Regions from separate parts of the Homo sapiens genome. Here region 1 is linked to region 2. Evidence: promoter capture Hi-C in 16 types of primary human blood cells and fetal thymus (Javierre and others, 2016). All regions are on one chromosome and are shown on one strand. Each heading gives the region's core, a stretch centred on a gene start or on the middle of the fragment in contact. The rest is flanking DNA. Distances are from core to core; before and after follow the strand shown. Region 1 has its middle 97 kb from the start of LINC02641. Region 2 holds the start of HMX2 (H6 family homeobox 2).

What was found. The method cuts DNA at HindIII sites, captures the fragments that hold promoters and counts their contacts. A CHiCAGO score of 5 or more calls a contact.
Region 1: a fragment that was not itself captured here is called in contact with the fragment with the promoter of HMX2 in region 2 in 1 of 17 cell types (naive CD4 T cells); the score reaches 6.2 in naive CD4 T cells.

The regions. Positions count from the first base shown.
Region 1 is chr10:123,249,245-123,253,301 of GRCh38, reverse strand. No RefSeq gene overlaps it. Among named protein-coding and RNA genes, the nearest start is that of LINC02641, 97 kb to the left of the region's middle. The HindIII fragment of the contact is 4,437 bases long and covers 141-4,057 here.
Region 2 is chr10:123,145,903-123,149,553 of GRCh38, reverse strand. It overlaps HMX2 (H6 family homeobox 2), which reads right to left and starts at 1,418. Exons shown (of 2, transcript NM_005519.2): 1 at 908-1,418. The coding sequence starts at 1,175. RefSeq lists silencers at 709-838, 1,229-1,548. The HindIII fragment of the contact is 9,748 bases long and covers 1-2,707 here.

The DNA of each region.
Region 1 (4,057 bases), core at 1,110-3,609, 100 kb before region 2:
TACAAATCATTAAGTTAAGCTACGGGTACCTAGTAAGATTCAAAAAAATTAAGTAAAACATCCTTTTTTACCCTTGAAATAACTAATAGCATTGGAGAACAAGGAAAATTACAGATGTTAACTGATTTACATTGCAAGCTTTAATCACCTGTACTTGACTCGTCAGAAATTTCTGCTGTCCTGACCACACTACACATTTTGAGAAAAAAATCCACCAACGGCCTTTTTTTTTTTTTAGAAATGAACAGTCAGTGGACTGTATTACACATCTGCAGCATCCTCAGGGAGGAGAAAAACCATGATCATTTGGTATGTTGCAAGAGAATAGATTTTATGTTTAATCAGAGCAAATAATGGCCTTGCATTTCTACGTGTGTTTGTTTGCTTAGGAATCTTATTAACTAAACAGATTTTTAGAGCAAAACCTCTCCTTTACTTTTCTTTCAGAAGCAGCTGTGGGTTTATGCAGTTCTTAAAGTGAATCCTCTAGGGAAAATAGATATTTTTCAAACGAGACCACCCTTCTCCCCTGGGGTGAGGGCATTGCACGGACCAGGCAAGGGTAGTAGACAATTCGAGATTCAGCAACCTTCCCTCCAAGTGGATGCAGTCTCTAGAGAGAACTGCCTTACAAGGAGAATGGATGGGAAAGAAGGAGGGAAGGAAAGAGGGAGGAGAAAAGATGTTTTTAAATTTGTGTGTGCGTAGTTTGCCACAGGAAGGTCTGCAGACTCTGGTCCCTGAGCTGGTGCAGAACCCCCACCTGCCAGCCAGAAAGGCTCTTCTCATTTGCCAAGGCCCTGTTCCACAGCCGGGACACTCACAAGACCTCATTTACAGAGAGGAGGATTGCTTCCTCCCGGCACAATTAAGAGTCCTTTGGAAAGTGAGCTTCCTGGGCCTCCTTGCTAAGCATTCCTCAGCCACCTTATCATCCCTCTCTTTTTTACCACTCTCCCCACTGGGCACTGGAGGGCTCAGCTCTGGGTGAGGTCCTGGGGTGGGCTGTAAATGAAGCAGAGATGCTTGGGTGGGAGACCTCAACTCCAGCAGAAAAATTGGGCCTTATTAAGGGGCTGGGAAGTCCTTTGCCATTTTATCAGTAGATGATTTTTTAGTATCACACACTATACACTTCACTTTATCTTTTTAAAAGGTGGAGGGAGGCTCATAGAAATCCATAAACAAAACCATTAACAAATAGAAAAGAATAGGGTAAGCGGGGGTGGCATAGAGGGTCTAGACACCTGGTTCTGCACCACAGGGTCCTACAAATTGCTAGAAGCCAGCCACAATTTGGGCTCAGAGCTTCCTCGTGGCAAAAGCAAAATGGGAAATACAATTGTATGGTCATAAAACTCATTGTTTCCAAATGATTGAATGTAAATTTTAAAATTTTGAAAAAAAATGTTTTTATTTGAAAAGAAAAATGTAAACAAAATCTTATACGTTAAAATTCAGAAATCAAGAAATAAAGGCATCATCTTAAAAAGTCAGATATTACTTCTTTCCTAGATTTTGTTTTTTCATGTAATATAAATCTCTGAAGATCATCAGTTGAAACTCCAATGCTATTTTTAACCATAAGAAGTATAAAAAGAAAAAAAAAGGACAAAATAGTATTGCCAGCACCTTTTAAAAGCTGAACAGCTGGGAGATAGTATGTGTTCACTATGTTGAACCACATTTAAATGACTCTAAATGGTCTGCTTTATGTTTTTGGAGTCATTAGAATTTTTCCAAAGCAGCTAAATGAATTTTCTGACCACTTTGGGCCATTTAAAGTATTAATTGATGTCACGCATTCAGTATGAAAAAGTCACATTTTGCTATTTCCAAAAAAAAGTTTCAGATTTTTTTAAAGAATATTTCTTGCTGCTTCTGCTATCTGGGAAATTACCTGCAATAATTGCATATAGTTTTGAAATGATCCGAAGTCAGAATTCTCAGTCCCTTCCTTGAATCTATTTTAAATTAGTGAGCATTTTTTTCCTATGGAAGCAATTTATAGTAATGATATATATATATACATACATATATATATATACATATATATATATGTATGTATATATATATATATATATGGAACCAGTAAAATGAAGAGACAGCCACTCTAAGACAAGCAGAGCATGTACTCTGGTCTTGCATCCCCAGAGAAGGAAACATTTTAAACTACCGCATTTTGATTTGACTATATCCTGTTGCCTGTCTGGCTCTGGGTTCTTCCTAAGGAATCACATTAAAGAATTCAAAAGGTGGGCTCGGAAACTCGGAAAAGGGAAAATTAAATTCCTAGAGAGGGTCAAGAATATCTTATTCATAAAGAGCCTCTTCTGCAGGACCTTGGAAACATGTAATATAACCTTCAAAGTAAAAACGGTTGTTGCATTAGTTCTGCTTAGCTGACCATGAATACTAATTGCAGGAAGAATTAACTGTGCCCAATACCTGGGGGCAGAAGCACACAAAAGTGACCGGGGAAGGCAAACAATGAATAAAGTAAAAATGAGCATCCACACCCCTATTCAACTCAACAGGATCTGCAACAAAACCCTAAATTACAAAGAAATCAGTATCTGCCTCTCACCCCCAGAGATTAAAAGAAAGAAGAGAAGCAACTGCAGCAAGATTGGAGTTTTTCAGTAAAAATAATACATGCTTTTGCTCTCATTCCTCTTATTCACATTCTGGGTTTTTTTGTTTGTTTGTTTTGTGTGTGTGTGTGTGTGTGTTTTTTTTCCTCCTTATTCTCTATTCCAGCTGTTGCTGTTCCTCTACAGGTTCAGGAACGTTATTACTCTTGCTCAGGCCTCCCATTTTGCATGGTATCTCTGCATGAGAGATAACCTGGTTGGTGAAAGAGGGCTTTGGGGTAAAACAGGGCCTGGATGTGAATTTCATCTCTGCAGTTTACTGGCCATGTGACCTTAGGTAAGTTACTAAACCTCTCTGGCCCTCTGTTTCCTCAGCTGTAAAATAGGGACAATAGTGTCCAGGTCACAGAAGTCTGAAGGAAAAAATGAGAAAATATCTTTGAATTGCCTGGCACATAACAAATCCTGAACAAGCACTACTCTTTGACGTGGAAGCTGCTGGAAATTCCTTTAACACATTCATCATCCCCTGCCCCTTCCAGGGAAGACCTGCTTCCAGCACACTCCCAGCCAGAGCTGATTGCCCAAACAAGAACACCTGACCCAGACTCAACCAACCACATTCTCTCTTCCTATAATGCAGAATTGGGCCATATTCCAATGTGGAATCCCTCTGGGAGAGACAGTTGTGGGGCAGCCATGTGTTGCCTTGTGCTGTACCCTGAAGTGGGGAAGAAATGTGGTATGCTAGAATCAGCTCATAAGTACCAGCTCCCAAGGACTGATTTCTTAAATTAGCAGGAATTCTGCAAGCCAAATTGTGAACACAACCATTATTAAAAATTAAATTATATAAATTTAAATTATATTTAAAACAAAGGTAATAAGTACTGAAATGCACCACTTCCTAATTATTTTATTATAGTTTATTATAATCTATGCTCCTGAGATTCTTTACAGCCATATATCTGTAAGGTGGGAATACTATATAATCATAAGCTATTGCACATCTCTTCCCAACTCTGCCTCCACATTGGTAGCTTTGAATCAGCCATGGTGGAAGTATTTACACCATGGAAATTGGCAACCACTGCAAATCGGGGCATCTCTTTCATCAGAGAATTGAGTATTAGACATTTACTACAACACCAGTGGAGAAAATTTCCAGGGAGAGGGAAAAAATGAGGTAGTGGCTCTTTGGAGCACAGAGGCAGGAGAGATAGAGACAACACACCCAGCTTCCCTATACTAAGACCATTCCTTTCCAGAAGCCTAGCTGTACTTCTGCTCTTGGGTTCCAGCAAAAACCTCTGCATCCTTACAGTGAATTCCTTTGTTGGGCTTAAACTAGCTCAAGTTGGTTTCTGCACCCCAATCTCAACCAAATAACAAAACATAAAATCAATGAGAACACTGAGCTCTCTCTTTGGGGTCATTTTAATCTATTCTTAGCTAAACAAAAT
Region 2 (3,651 bases), core at 169-2,668:
GACAGAAAGGCCATGGAGTTGGTTGGGGAGCCTCGGAGACCGCCAGCTCTCCCTGGGACCAAGCGGTTGGCAAGCGCCTGCAGCCTTGGTCCCACCTTACCAATCCCCTCCTCTTATCCCTCTCACTGGCCCCCCAAACCCAGCACCCCGTCCTTTAAAAGCGACAAGAGAGGGACCCAGCTACTTGGAGTATGGGGTCTCTGTGCTCCCACCTTTATGAATGGGCCAGGGGCAACAGGGAGAGGAGGTCTGGAGGGGGAAACATTAGCATGGTTTTAAAAGGCGAATTTGCTTGGTGGTAATTGAGCTGGAAGAGTTCCTCGAGCTTTATAGGGTGGCATCATTTCACAGGCCGTTTGTTTGGAAATCACGCTAAGGACTAACGCAGGACTCCCCTTCGTCAAATGTTGTAAAGAGGAACCGTCTCTGAAATGCACCATTGTCAATCATCTTGGAGTGCTAATCATTCCAAGGAGGAGAGAGAGAGAAAGGCAGAGATACGGAGCGAGTGAGGAAGAAGACTCAGAAAGAGATTACGGTGGAGACAGACTGCCCAGACCCGACTTGCAGATCTCCACCTCGTGTCCGGAAAGAAAGTACCAGATGTGCAGTGATTGAGGACAGCCGGGTGTAAGGCCGGCCGCGTGTCCCTCTCGCTGTGGTCCACTCTCTCAACAACTCAACCTTCCCCAGGAAGCCCAAGCCGGCACGGGTCTGTGTTCGCCTGCTCCCAGGGGCCCACCGGGCGGAGGAGGCACCACAGTGCGCGCCCCTCTCCCCGCGGTCCCGAACCCCCGGCTGCCGCAGCTCTGGCCAGAGGGGGCCCGGCGCGGGAGTCTTGGCGGGGCGCTCAGCCTCCCTCCCCTCGCGCTCGCTCGCTGCCACACTGGCGACGTGCGATCCTTACCCAGGCAAGGAAAAGGGATGGGGGGATGGTGCTTGGGGCCCTGCTCCTTAGGGCCGTGCTGGTCTGGGCAGAAGCAGGCGGGCGCCTTCCAGCCGTCGTCCGGCTCCTCCTCCTCCGAGGACACGGACAGGCTGCGCTTCCTGGCTGGCCAGCCGACGGGCTCCCGCGGTGCCTCCGAGGGGCCCCCGCCCAGGATGGACTGGATGGTGAAGCTGGAGACGCCACCGGCCGCCGGACACCCCTTGCCCGCATCTTCTTTGCTGCCCATCCTGGGTTCATAAGAAATCGAAGGAAACCAAGAACTCCCTTTAGAGACGATCTGGGTGATCTGGGTGGAAGGTGGTGCAGCAGGCAGGCAGTGGGGAGGGGCGGGGAGGAAATCTAGGGGGAGGGGGCGCCGAGGCTGGTGAGGCGTCCCTTCCGCGCCAGGGACATGCAGGCACCGGATGGCTGCGCAGGGGTTCCTGCCCGCCTGGCTCTGGGTGCGCCCGCCCAGCCCCGGTGCAAATGCCCCTTCCTCGCCCGCCAACTCGCCGGGTCTCCGGCGGCGCGGAGGCGGCGCGGCCTCATTTGCATAGAGGTTACCCGAACGCGGCCAATCGCAGCGCCGCCGAGCGGCCCCGGAAAATTTCAAAACGCTCCGGCCAGGCACACAGCACCGGTGCGCCCCCAGAGCGCGCCGAGGGCCTGGCGGGCATCAGCGGCGTCTAACCAGGGGCAGCCAGGGCTGAAAGCAGCTGCAGATTCTAGCCCGGGTTCCTGGCGGCTGCGGCAACTCCGACTCCTTGGACCCCTTGGACCCTTCTCTCCAGAGGCAGGGGCGGTGCGGGACTCGGAGCTGGAGTGGCTCGACGCCTCCGCAGGCGACGGGTCTCCGCGCCTCCCAGGGGCTTGTACAGGCTGCTCCACCATCCTCCCCCAGCCCTCCACCCCTTCTAGCCCCAGTGGGCGGGCAAAGCCGGCACTCCTGGGACCGTGGCGCCCTGCGTGGGGGTGAGGTGGGTTAGGAGCAGGCGTCTCCAGGCGGACGCTCATCCTCTCCAGCATGGCCAGGAGCCTTGGGAGCAGACATTCCCCTTCCCCGTCTGCAGACCTCATCCCTGTCACAGGTTCTACGGACCTACAGAATCTTTAGGGGGAGGGAGGAAGCCCTAAGACCTCTAGTCAAGAGATCTGGGTTCAAATTCCGGCACAACTATTTACACACTGCATGAACTTGCACAACTCATGCCGATTAAAGCCTCTCTGCCCTCATAGTTGAAAATAACTTCTCGGATTGCCTCAGGTAGGGATTAAAAGCCTCGAAGCACTAGCAGCGCATAGTAGGTACTCCATAAACCTGGCCGGGTAGCCCATGGCCCACCCGTGTTTTAAGCGAATCTGTGTTTTTGTTTTGTAAATTTTGAAGGTTTCCGAACTGCTGCAGAAATAGACGCCTTACTCCCAGGAAGAAGATAAGGAACTGGTGACAGGACTCGGTTTTAGAATTGAGCAGACTCGACTCAATTCTCGGCTGGGTGATCTTGGGGGAAGACATTTGGAAATTCTGAGGCTCGGTTTCTTTATTCCTAAAATTGGAGGAAGCAGTGCCTCCCTCGCAGAGGCTGTTGTGAGGTCAAACTACCCAGCACCGAGCCTGGCACACCGTGGTGCTCAGTAAATAGTGATTCCCTCTGTGTTCTCATAGCCCCCTTCTGTGCCCTGGCTCTCGCCCCTTTAATTCCTAGATCAGCTGTTACCCGAGCTAGAATTAGCCCAGCCAAGCAAAGCGGTTTGGGGCCACAGTCGTCTGCACAAGCTTCCTGGAAACTGAAGTGAGGCAAGGCCCGAAGTGCTCAGGCAACCCCGTCCCCTCAAGCTGTGACCTCTAGACCTCTTGGCCAAGAGATTCCAGAAGCCCTGTCTTTAGGGTGCCCCCCAAGTGCAGCCAAGGGTGAGTGGAGACTCTGGAATCAGTCCCCACAAATGTCCAGACACTGCATGACTGTGCAGTTCCTTCCTCGCCTGCACCGCGCCCGGGTTATTAAGTAAAGCGCTTATAATATCATTAGCCGCGGTGAGTTACCGACTGCGGCCCTGCCCGTGGCAGAACTCTTCCCTACTTAACTCCTCGAGGGGCTCGTTAATGGGCTAATTGATTAGGAGTCGGCCGCGCAGCCGGGGCAGGGGCAGGCGAGGGGGCGGGGGCCAGGGGGTGCGCGCAGCGGCCCGGGAGGCCAGCGAGGGGCAGGTGCCGGCCTCCGTCACCGCATTAACCTCTTCAGGGCTCAGCGGCAGGGTCGAGACACATTACAAATGGTCAGCTTTAATCATGGTGTCAGCTCATTAACCCGGAAGGACCTGGCGCTGAAATACAATTTGTGCGTTCTCCTCTGCGCCGCGGCGGCGCAGGCTCCTGGGCCACGTCGCAGCGGGTCCCGCGTGCTCCCGCGCTGTTGGGGGGTACGCGGGAGGTTCAGCGAAAGAATCGTCGGATTCTCACTAACCATCCGCTTCTCGCAGACATCCTGAGCTAGGCGCTGCCTCCGGAGCCAGGGTCAAGGCAGCCCCGAGGGGAACTGGCCAGCTAACTCGGGGAGCAGTGCCAGCCACCCCGCTGGGGAAGAAAGCTGGGGGCAGGCAGGGAAAGTTGGTCGAACCTTCCTGAACTGTAAATATGTCGTGCGGGGAACATGCTGGAAGCTCCCCAGCATTCTTCGCTTTAATCCTGATGGCAAACAAGTGACACAGATCTATTCACTCAA